3 separate regions of the Homo sapiens genome follow, and all the other regions are linked to region 2. Evidence: promoter capture Hi-C in human tissues and cell types (Jung and others, 2019). All regions are on one chromosome and are shown on one strand. The core of a region is centred on a gene start or on the middle of the fragment in contact, and the rest is flanking DNA. Distances in the headings are between cores, read along the strand shown.

Region 1 (3,825 bases), core at 1,050-3,549, 260 kb after region 2:
ATGAAAGGTCTATGTGCCTCTGTGGTGCTCCATCCCCAGTGACAGAGATCTGTCACGGAAGAACTTTAGGGCCTACTGTGTAATGATGGAGTCCAAGTGATAAACCAAAAATTGACAGATGAAGCTATCAATCATGAAAATTTAATAAAGAAGACAGGTTTTTCAGGAGTTACTCAATTAAATCAAAGAGAATACTGCTTGTGAAGGATGGCTCTGGTAAAGTGGTCTGCATCAGTGCTAGTCCACACACACTCTCGGTGCCTAGATTCATTATTTAAAGTGGGACTGATGGGCAGTGGGATGGAGTGGAAGCTTACAGGGCTTTCAGAACCAAGCCAGAGTCAGTGAGTGGCAGAGACAGCTCTTTACTGCAAAATCCCAATGGCTTTCTGCAGATTCTGGCCTGCAGATTAGAAAATGGGACATTTTTAAAAACTGTGGTAAAATACACATAAGACTTACCATTTTAACAATTTTAAGTGTGCAATTCAGTACATTAAGTACATTCATATTGTTATGCAACCGTCACCATCATCCATCCACAGAACATTTCTCATCTTGCAAAACTGACATTCTGTCCCCATTAAGCAGTAACTCCCCACTTTCCCACTGCAGCCTCTGGCAATCACCATTCTACTTTCTGTCTGTGAATTTGCCTACTCCAGATACCTCATATAAGTGAAATCCTACAGTATCTGTCCTTTTGTGATGGGCTTATGCATTTAATGTAATGTCCTCAGGGTCCACCTGTGTTGCAGCGTGTGTCGGAATTTTGTTCCTCTTTAAGGCTGAGTGATATTCCATTGTATGTATTTACTACATCTTGTTTATTCATCCATCCATTGATGAATACTTGGGTTGCTGTCACCTTGTGGCTGTGTGAATACTGCTGCTATGAAAGTGGGTGTACAAATATCTGTTCGAGTCCCTGCTTTCAGTTCTTTTGGGTATATCCCAGAAGAGGGATTGCTGGATGATACGGTAATTCTAGTTTTTTGATTTTTGAGGAATTGCCATACCTGTTGTCCACAGCAACTGTGAGGACAGCGTGAGACCGTTTATTCTCCTCTTTTGCCTGTAGCTGCCCTGCCCATTCGTATTCCCCCCTCCAAACCCAGGTGTGATGGGGGCCCTGTCTCCGAGCAGACAGGGAGGCACCGTAGATGGCACACTGGATCTGGCTCCTGGCCCACCCCATCTGTACTCTAGTCCTTTGGCCTTGATGACCCATTCCTGGAGGCAAAATGCTTTCCTCTCTGTGCCTCAATTAATTGGGTTTCCCAGCACCCCAATAGCCAAATAGATACTTATGTGCTAAGATAATGTGATAAATGCCAAACATTATTCTGTCATCCTAGGAAGCTTCAAATTAGAGAGAGATCTGCTCTAGTAAACTGTAGAATAAAATATAGCAAACGCACCTTATCCATTCTAATCAATGATAGCCACCAGTTATTGAGCATTTGACCACGTGCCAGGCAGTGAGCTGGGACTTTACATACATTATTACACTTAATTTTCACCATAAGATATCACAGATAAGGAGCCGGTCAAAGTGAGGTTATGAAGTTTTCCTAGAACCCACATGGACAGAGAGCAGAAGAGGCTCAGGTTCTCTCCTGCTCTCTTGGGTCTTGCCTTATGTGCCAGAGGCATCTGTGGTTCAACCAACCCCCTTTTGTCCCCTGCCACCTTCACAACCAACAAGATGCTGGAGGCTGCTAGATGAAGATAAAAATGTCAGTGATATTACTGACAAAATCATCTGGAGAATGAGTGCACAATTGTTGCTAATGATCTCTGAGTGACCTCCCAGCTCCTTTGCCTCTGCTTCCCTAACCCGGTCTAGACCTTAAGTTACTTCCTCCAGGTGAAAGTCTGGTCTGTGGCATCCAGACACTGACCGCAGATTTCTCCCAGCCGTAGTCTGGGCGGAAAGGTTAAAAAAGAGTGAATACTCTGTGCTGTTAATAAATTAATAAATCAGGTTATTCTATCAAGGGAGTCTACCAATGGATTTCTCCAACCAGTCAGGTAACTCCTTTTTCTTTTTTTTCTTTTTAATATATTTTTTTGAGATGGAGTCTCGCTCTGTCACCCAGGCTGGAGTGCAGGGGCGCGATCGCGGCTCACTGCAAGCTCCGCCTCCCGGGTTCACGCCATTCTTCTGCCTTAGCCTCCGGAGTAGCTGGGACTACAGGCGCCCGCCACCACGCCCGGCTAATTTTTTTTGTATTTTTAGTAGAGACGGGGTTTCACCGTGTTAGCCAGGATGGTCTCGATCTCCTGACCTCGTGATCTGCCCGTCTTGGCCTCCCAAAGTGCTGGGATTACAGGCGTGAGCCACGTGCCCGGCTGGTAACTCCTTTTTCTGCAGTAGAGGGTGGGGCGGAAGCCATACGGGTTACTTTATAGGAGCTCCTCAAAGAAAAAAAACTGAAATGAGGAGAAAGGAGTTTCCTTTCTGCCCTGTACCTCTTGAGAAACCCCTGCTGAATGGAACTTTCAGCAGATGGAATACAGCATTGCTTCTCCCCAACCCTGGGGGAGCTCACAGCACTGCTTTGTTCAGAGCATTTTCAAACAGGAGCATGAGATCAAATCCTGGCTCCACTGCTCACCAGCTGTGTGACCTCAGATGATTCGTTCAACCCTTCTAACTTCATTTGCCCCATATATAAAATGAGAAGGATAACTGTACCTCAAGGATTGTCTTGAGGATTTAAGAAAATGATGAATGTAAACAACGTGGCATAAGTGTCCAACAAATATTAAGGGAAAGACACATTCTAGTTTTGGAGATGTTATGTGGAACAACAACAAAAAAAGCGCGTTAGACTTAGTGAGAGGTGGTAGTTTCTATCCTTAGACACTCTCCTGCAGAAAGCATCAGTGTTGTTAGGACGAACTTGGGTGAAAGTTTTGAATATTCAGGCTCCAGTTAGAGTCTTGAGTACCAAAAGATCAGCAGAGAAGAAAAGAGGTCACCGACCTTTGGAGGTTCCCACTTGCAGGAAACAACAGAATGCAGATGCCGGCCTTGTCTGCGAGGCTGTGAGTGATGGCGGCCATGTGGATAGAGAGCCATGTTGACAGAAAGCCACTGCGGGAGACCTAGGCTTTTACACAGAGGCCACATTGTGATTCCCGCAGGAATGGTAGAAATGGAAGGAAATTTAGCTATTGCTCGTCCTAATCTCTGACTTAACAGAATGGAAAAGCAAGAATAAGCGTCGGCTGGTGATGTACTCCCGTGATGAACACAGCTGGTTAGAGCCAGGTTGGACTGCGCCGCCTCTTCATGTCAGATCAGTGAATTTTCTCTTGAGCCATCCTGCCTTCCTCTAATAGATTTGTAATCTGAACCCAGACATATCTTTTATCCCAGGCGCTCAAAAGGTTTTCACTGAAACCCTGAAAAAAATATTTTTTAAAACTCACAAACAAACAATCAGCAAGCACCTGTATGTGCTAAGTTGATAGATAGTAAGAGTCTTACATGGGCTAAAGTTTTAATTCTCCACCCAATGCAGAGTGAGGTCCCACTGTCACCGGCTCACTGACGAGGAAGCTGAGATTCAGCAAGGTCCAGCACTCGCCCAGGGCTTGTACAGGGCCTCAAGGATGCGGGGGTCTTCAGGTCTAGTTGGTATCACTCCACAGAAATCCATTCATCTGAGGGCCAGGCCTGTTTCCCAAGGACATAGTTTCAAATATAGTGCTTTCTTCACTATAAAAAGTATTGCATGTAAATGTTAATAGTGGTTTCCAAGTAGGCAGAAATAACCTTTTGAAACACAATTTTTTTAAAAGAAAAATCAAAAT
Region 2 (3,793 bases), core at 801-3,300:
GAATGTCCTTCTAAGAAAGAATATATATTACAAATAATACTTATGAATTACATAGAAAAAATAGATATAACATTTGCTTCTAAGAAGTATGTAAAACTTGAAAGAATGGACATTGGTGAGCAGAGGAGAGAAATTCAACACGGAAGAGGTAGAGAAATTTGGTATTGAATATAGAAGTGTTTGTCTTAGTTCTCTGTATTTTGTATCACCTATTTATCTCCTTTTATGTGTAATATTTTATAACAAAAATTTAAAAAATGAAAATCCTAAACATTCAGAAATAAAATACACACAGACACAGACATACACACACACACACACACACACACACACACCACTGTGGTCACAGTGTGAGGGCAGAAGACCTGATTTCATTAAGGGTAAGGTTTTAGTATTCATTTGGACTGGGCTATTTGCTACCGGGGGACTGGAACAGTCTCAATGAGCTGGAGATGTGAGGAGCCAGGAGAAGACACCTCACAGAGCAGATGTGCCGGTTAGAAAGAAATAAAGTTGCTTCCTGGTGACCCTTGGCTTCATCCAGCCCATTCAAAAAACTATCAGGCCACCAAATGCCATAAAGTGAGACATGTTAGAAACACAAACTTATTTGTAAAAAGGTCCATAGAAGTTTTGATATTTTCTTTCTAATGCCACTGAACTGTGCTCTTAACCCAGTGAATCATTCTGCATAAGTCTTAGATATGTGACCCTATGGTCAAGACCAGGCCTCAAGAATGGTACCCCATTCAGAAACCAAGTCTATTGGTTGTTGTTATGGAAAGCACTCAGACTTCCAGGCTTTGGCAAATCTCCCTCCCAGAGGATGGATTCTGTCCCCAGATCCCCAGACCCTGCCTAGGTCATAGATTCATAAGCAGCAGCTGTATGTGTCATCTGTCACTCCGCATCTCCTGCTTCATGACATGATATGGTATTAGCTCTCACCTGCACTGCAGCTGGGTGCTTGCTGCCAAATAATTCATGATCAGATCTCTCTATTGGCCTCGTGTTGCCAAAAATCCAACATACCTGTCACCTGAGGTGGGAGGATCCATGACATTGTATACTACTGAAAATGTCCTGCGGTGTCAGAGATGAGAGAACCCAGGAGGGCAGGGGTCATGGCGATCTGGCCCTGTGCTCTCCACCAGCACCTGGCACAGAGTCTGGCATGGAGCAGACCCCGTGAGTGTTGCTGGGCAGATGGGTGGATGGATGAATGGGGTCAGGCTCCAGTGAATGTTGCTGGGTGGATGGATGGATGGGTTGTGAGTGGGTAGGTGGAAAACCACACAGATGATGAGTGAATGAGATGAAAGTAATGAAGAGAGAAGCTCAAAGGCAGCCGAAGCCGTCAGGTGAGTACCTGCATCGCCTTTGTCACCCTTCGCTCCGTCTCGTCCATCTCTTCCAGGCAGACCATTGTGACCGGGGTTCCCAGGGATTCCAGGGTGCCCTTGCCTGCAGGTGTCCTGTGAGTTTATGTTCCCTGTGCAGATTTCAATGGCAAGCAGAAGCCACCAGATCCTCATGGTTCAGATGACAGACTGAACTGAAAGAGGGAAACAGAAACCCAGAGGAGAAACCTTTGTTGCTGGGGCCCTGGACACAGCCTCCGTTCTGTGCAGTGGGAAATGGATGAGCTGTCCCCTGCCCCAGACCCACACCTGGACAGACTTGGCAGAAGACTCAGGGCAGGGGAGCAAGCTGGTTATTACCAGGATGACATTGTCCTTGGAAGGTAACACTTGTGATTGGAACCACTCTTCAAGCTGAACGGGCAATAAAAAAAAGCCAAGTTTAAGGTCAGGATACTCTTCCGTTCATCATTTCACTTTGAAGAAATCACTTCTCTTAACCACAGACCAATGCTTACTTATCTCACAGGACTATTGTAAAAATCAAATTTTATCACAATATGCATAAAGGCACATGACAAATAGTGAAGCAAACATAGCATTACCATCTGATCCAGCAATTCCACTGCTGTGCATCTACACAAAATAATTGAAAGCAAGGACTAGAACAGATGTCCATGTTCGTAGTTGCATTATTTTCCATAGCAACCCAAGGGTCCCTCAGTGGATAAACAGATACATGCAATGTGGTAGGTCCATACAATGGAATATTCTTCAGCCTTAGAAAGAAAAGAAATTCTGACATGTGTTACATGAATGGACCTCGAGAACATTATGCTAAGTGAAACTAGCTAGTCACAAACAGACAGACCTGGATAACTTCAGTTATAAGAGGTTCCTAGAGCCGTCAAACTCATATAAAGAAAAAGTAGGATGATGGTTGCCAGAGGTGAAGAGAGAAGGAAATGGGAGTTGTTTGATGGGTACAGAGTTTGGGAAGATTTTAAAAGAGTTCTGGAGATGGGTGGTGGTGATGGTTGCACAACAAAGAGAATGTACTTAATGCCACTGAACTGTGCCCTTAAGATGGTTAAGCTGGTTAGTTTTATGTTATATATTTTTTTTACCACATTAAACAATTAAATTAAATTTTTAAAAAAGTAAAGCATTCCAAACAGTCTTACTGTAATGAGAGGTATTCTTTGAGTCAGGGTCTTGTTTTTCTAGGAGGCCACTGTGAAGAAGGGCCACACACACAGAAAACATCACCTAGTTCGGGAGAAGTGCATTTTCAAGTCCTTTCCTCTGTAGACACTGCCCCCACCCCAGGTTATCCATGCAGTTTCCCCCGCAGCAGGAGCTAAGACAACGCTTGGGCAGTGCTCCAAACGGAGCAGCAAACGCAAGGCCTGGAAGGAAGATGAAACGTGGATGGCTGGGCCTCCTGACTCAGCAACGCTCCCACTCAGGGCTGTGGAGCACCCTGTTACTCTCCCACATGGCGCTTGTCATGGCAGGGGCTTGACACTTGTTTACATAATTGTAGGATGAAGAATCTGACTCCCCGCCTGACTGTATTTCCTCATTATTGCCTTCCCAGTACTCAATATTAAACTTGGAACAGCAGATTGAACAAATACTTGTTGAATGAAATTAATGTATCATCATGGGAGATGTCTTAGGATATATATATAATTTTTGGAGACAAGGTCTTGCTCCATCACCAAGGCTGAAGTACAGTCATGCAATCACAGCTCACTGTAGTCTCAACCTCCCAGCTCAAGTGATCCTCCTGCCTCAACCTCCCAAGCAGCTGGGACTACAGGCATGCACCACCACACCCGGCTAATTTTTTTTTTTTTTTTTTTTGAGATGTAGTTTCACTCTTGTGACCCAGGCTGGAGTGCCATCTCTGCTCACTGCAAACTCCGCCTCCCAGGTTCAAGCAATTCAGCTTCTCGAGTAGCTGGGATTACAGGCGCCATCACCACGCCCGGCTAATTTTTGTATTTTTAGTAGAGACGGGGTTTCACCATGTTGGCCAGGCTGGTCTCAAACTCCTGACCTCAGGTGATCTGCCCGTCTTGGCCTCCCAAAGTGCTGGGATTACAGGCATGACCCAATGCCACTGGCCCTAATTTCTCTTCTCTTCTTTTCTTCTTTTTTCCTTCCTTCCTTCCCTCCCTCCCTCCCTTTCGTTTTCTTTCTCGCTTTCTTTTTTTTTTTTTTTTTTTTTGAGACTGGGTCTAACTCTGTTGCCCAGGCTGGTCTTGAATTCCTGAGCTCCCACCTCAGTCTCCCAAAGTGCTAGTATTACAGGCTAAAGCCCCTGCACCTGACTTTTAGGATTTAAAAAATTAAAGTAAAACAAAAACGTGGGCCTAGTGCAACTGGTCAGAACCCAGATCCTCTCACAGTGCTGATAGCCACGT
Region 3 (4,049 bases), core at 132-2,631, 280 kb after region 2:
CTGGGTACTGGAGCAGGCGTGGGGGATCTGAGCTTGCTCAGCTCCTGGTGTATGCTTCTTTCTTAAGTGTGATTGTTACAAAGGTAGAGTCCAAGTGTAAATTTCTCAGGCTTTATATCCATTTTTTGTTTTATTTCTTGAGAAATTGAAGCCTCCATATACACTGCAAAAAGTTACTTATGCCTGTCTTTTCCATAACACAATTTTATAAGGACTATCTACATAAGTCATGTTGAACTTAAACAGATCTGGTGTCAGTACTAAAGTTGTTTATGTTTTGTAAACACCCCATTAGTTTAACCCATTTTATTTACCAGTTACAACTTTGGAAGGGCAGCAAAGACCTTGGTCTATTACTTTTCATGTAATCTTTACAGAAAAGTTGGAAAATACAGCCAAATAAATCATAGTATTTGCTCTCTTTTTCCCCATGATGTCACAGTTTCCTTTTAATTTCTGCTTTTCAGATCACAAAAACATGTTATTTTCCCAGCAAACTAGATCCTTTGATTAATGGGACCAGGCAAGTCCAAGGACAGATTAAGCACGCTGGGTCCTGGCAGGAATCCCAGAAATGACCCTCAGTCAGCCTTCTTTCTCTCACCTTGGACCTGTTTCATTGAATTTACTGTGTTTTCTGTGAAAATGGAGCTTGGTAATTTCTCTAAAGAAGTTCACATATCTAAATGATAATGAAATGATTGATTAGCTATTAATTATTAATAGATCACAAGTTCATGCTGTAGTATATAATTTTTTTTTCTTTTGAGATGGTGTCTTGCTGTGTCACCCAGGCTCACTGCAACCTCCGCCTCCTGGGTTCAAGGGCTTCTTGTGCCTCAGCTTTCTGAGTAGCTGGGACCACAGACGTGTGCCACCACGCGCAGCTTATTTTTGTATTTTTAGTGGAGACAGGGTTTCGTCATGTTGGCCAGGCTAAGTCTCAAACTCCTGACCTCAGGTAATCCACCAGCCTTGGCCTCCCAAAGTGCTGGGATTACAGGCACGAGCTGCCGCACCCAGCCTGTAGTATATACTTTTGTTAGTGAGCCTCCTTTCTCTCTAGTACAAAAAGGAGTTGAAAATTACCTTGTCAATTCTGTTTCTTAATTATTCCTTAATTAATCAAAGAATAGTGGACACAAACGTTGCTTTACTTCTCTGACTCAGTTACTTTTAACAATTAAGAAATTTTTAATAGATATGTGAAAAAAAGAGATCAGATACTTTCATAATAATTTAGGCATATGTCAGTGTGTCTGGCTGTGCCTGGCCAGAAATTATAAATTTATTTCTTACAGCTCTGGAGGCTAGGAAGCCTAAGACAGAGGTGCCAGCAAATTCACTGTCGGCGTGAATGCCTGCTTTCTGGTTTATAAATGGTGCCTTCTTACTGTGTCTTCATATGGTGAAGGGGGCAAGGGTGTCTCTCTTAGGCCTTTTTAATTTAATTTTTATTTTTTTAGACACAGTCTTACTCTGCAATCGTAGTTCACTGGAGCCTCAAACTCCTGGGCTCAAGTGATTCTCCTGCCTCAGCCTCCCCAGTAGCTGGGACTACAGTTGCATGCCACCATGCCTAGCTAATTTTTTAAATTTTCTGTAGAGACAGGGTCTCCTGTGTTGCCCAGGCTGGTCTTGAACTTAAGTGATCCTTCCACCTTGGCCTCCCAAAGTGTTGGGGTTACAGGCATGAGCCTGGCCATTGGGCCTTTTTAATAAGGGCTCTAATCCCATTCAGGAGGGCTCTGCCACCATGATCTAATCACCTTCTAAAGGCCCTATCTTTCAATATAATCACTTTGGGGATAGGATTTCAACATATGAATTTTTTTTTAATTGGGCCTCACTTTGTCACCCAGGCTGGAGTATGGTGGTACAATCATGGCTCACTGCTGCATCAAATTCCTGGGCCCAAGAGATCCTCCTGCCTCAGCCTCCCAAGTAGCTGGGACTATGGGTGTGCGCCACTATGCCTGGCAAATTTCGTTTTTTGTAGAGATGGGGTCTTATCATCTTGCCCATGCTGGTCTTGAACTCCTAGATTCCAATGATCCTCCCACCTTGGCCTCCCAAAGTGCTGGGATTACAGATGTGAACCACCATACCCGGCTTGATTGTTTTTTAAACTGGGAATATCTGCACCAGATCAACATAAAAATTTCCAGAAGGCGCAAACGTTCCAATAATAACAGCTCCTACCATTCACTCCAGAAGCCACTGCTTGCCACCTCTGCCACCTGTGAGCATGCTCTTGAAAAATACTTGTGGAATTAGCAGAAATGTATTGAACTGCATTATGATACGGCTGCAAGGAATGAGTAGACATCATTTTGATACTTCTGAGGAACATGCATTTTTTTTTAACTGTAAGAGCTTTTTTGACCATTATCTTATGACATCACTTGTATACAGTTATTAATAGTACTAATTGCTTCTTGGCCTTTTGGCTATGATCAAGTATAGTTATTTACAGTAGTAGTAATAAGTACCCTAATAAATGAGCTTACTCTGTGCCATGCATTGCTAGGAAGGTATTATTATCTGTATAAGAACAAATAGAGGATCAAAAAACTTAGTGAACCAAGTAGACCCAGTCTATCTAATGGCTGAGCTGGGATTATACCCAGCATTTTGTACTGTGCCATTTCTGCCTGTTACCACCTTCTGTCTAGGTTAAAAATTGACACCACAGCACAGCAACTGGCCTCTTTGTTTCTTTTTTTTAACAGCTTTATTGAGATCTAATTGATATGTAACGCATCCATTTAAAGTATATAATTCAGTTGTTTTTAGTGTATCCACGGAGTCATGCACTCATCAATTACCATAGTCAATTTGAAGACATTTTCATCCCCTCCGAAAGGAAACCCTGGACCCATTAGCAGTCCTCATTTTCCCTCAAGTCCCCAGCCCTAGACAACCACTCATCTATAGTCTGTCCCTCTACATTTGACTATTCTAGACATTTCAATAAATGATTCATACAACATGTGGCCTTTTAGGTCTGGCTTCTTTCACAGCTTAATGTTTCAAGGTTGATCCCTGTGGTAGCATGAATCAGTATTTCCTTTCTTTTCATTGCTGAATGATACTTCATTGTATGTATGTACCTCATTGTATGTATTCATTCATCAGTTGATGGACATTTGGGTTGTTTGTACTTTTTAGCTGTTAGGAATAATATGCTATGAACATTTGTGTACAAGTTTTTATGTGGACATCTGTTTTCATTTCTCTTGGGCATATACCTATGCGTGGCATTGCTGAGTCAAATGGTAACTCAGTGTTGAAATTTTGGAAGAATTGCCAGACTATTTCTCAAGCAGGCATGCACCATTTTACATTTCCATCAGCTATGTATGGGGGCTCCAGTTTTTAAACTGATGTGTGCTATTTAAAAATTTAAAAATTGTGGTAAAATGTATAAAACATAAACTTTACCATTTTAACCAGTTTCAGTGTACAGTTCAGCCATAGTAAGTACATTCATTGTTATGCAACCAATCTCCAGAATCTTTTTATCTTGCAAAACTGAAACTCTGTACAGATTAAATGCAAGTCCCTATTTATCCCACTCCCAGCCCCTGGCAACCTCTATTTTACTTTCTGTTTCCGTGTCACCAACACTTTTTCCCATCTGCTTTATTGATTCTAGCCAGCTTAACTAATGTGTCTGAAGTGGCATCTTATTTGGATTTGAGTTGCATTTCTCTGATGCATGATGATGTTGAACACCTTTTCATGTGCTTATTGGCTATTTGGATATCTTCAAAGAAATGCCTCTTCAAGTCTTTGCTCATTTTTTAATTGGGTTGCTTGCCATTTTGTTGTTGAGTTGTAAGGGTTTTTTATATATCCTGGATAGCAGACTCCTATCAGATATGTAATTTACAAGTATCTTCCATTCTACAGCTTTTCTTTTTACTTTCTTACTTAGTGGTGTTCTTTGCATTAAAGTTTTAAATTTTGATGAAATCATTTAGCTATTTGTTTTTTGGTTGGCTGTGCTCATAGTGTTGTATTTGAGAAACTATTGCCTAATCCAA

Evidence for each region. The method cuts DNA at HindIII sites, captures the fragments that hold promoters and counts their contacts. A contact is called where the count stands out against the background at its distance.
Region 1: a fragment that was not itself captured here is called in contact with the fragment with the promoter of C1QTNF9B in region 2 in 1 of the 25 tissues and cell types used here (lymphoblastoid cells).
Region 3: a contact is called between a fragment that was not itself captured here and the fragment with the promoter of C1QTNF9B in region 2, in 1 of the 25 tissues and cell types used here (lymphoblastoid cells).

Annotation. Positions count from the first base shown.
Region 1 is chr13:24,155,242-24,159,066 of GRCh38, forward strand. It overlaps a transcript of SPATA13 not described here. Among named protein-coding and RNA genes, the nearest start is that of SPATA13, 3.6 kb to the right of the region's middle. The HindIII fragment of the contact is 8,626 bases long and covers 1-3,825 here.
Region 2 is chr13:23,895,452-23,899,244 of GRCh38, forward strand. C1QTNF9B (C1q and TNF related 9B) reads right to left here and starts at 2,051. Exons shown (of 5, transcript NM_001007537.3): 1 at 1,967-2,051; 2 at 1,671-1,775; 3 at 1,370-1,555. The coding sequence starts at 1,535. The HindIII fragment of the contact is 9,082 bases long and covers 19-3,793 here.
Region 3 is chr13:24,176,040-24,180,088 of GRCh38, forward strand. The region is part of intron 1 of SPATA13 (spermatogenesis associated 13); the gene reads left to right. Among named protein-coding and RNA genes, the nearest start is that of MIR2276, 16 kb to the left of the region's middle. The HindIII fragment of the contact is 6,907 bases long and covers 1-4,049 here.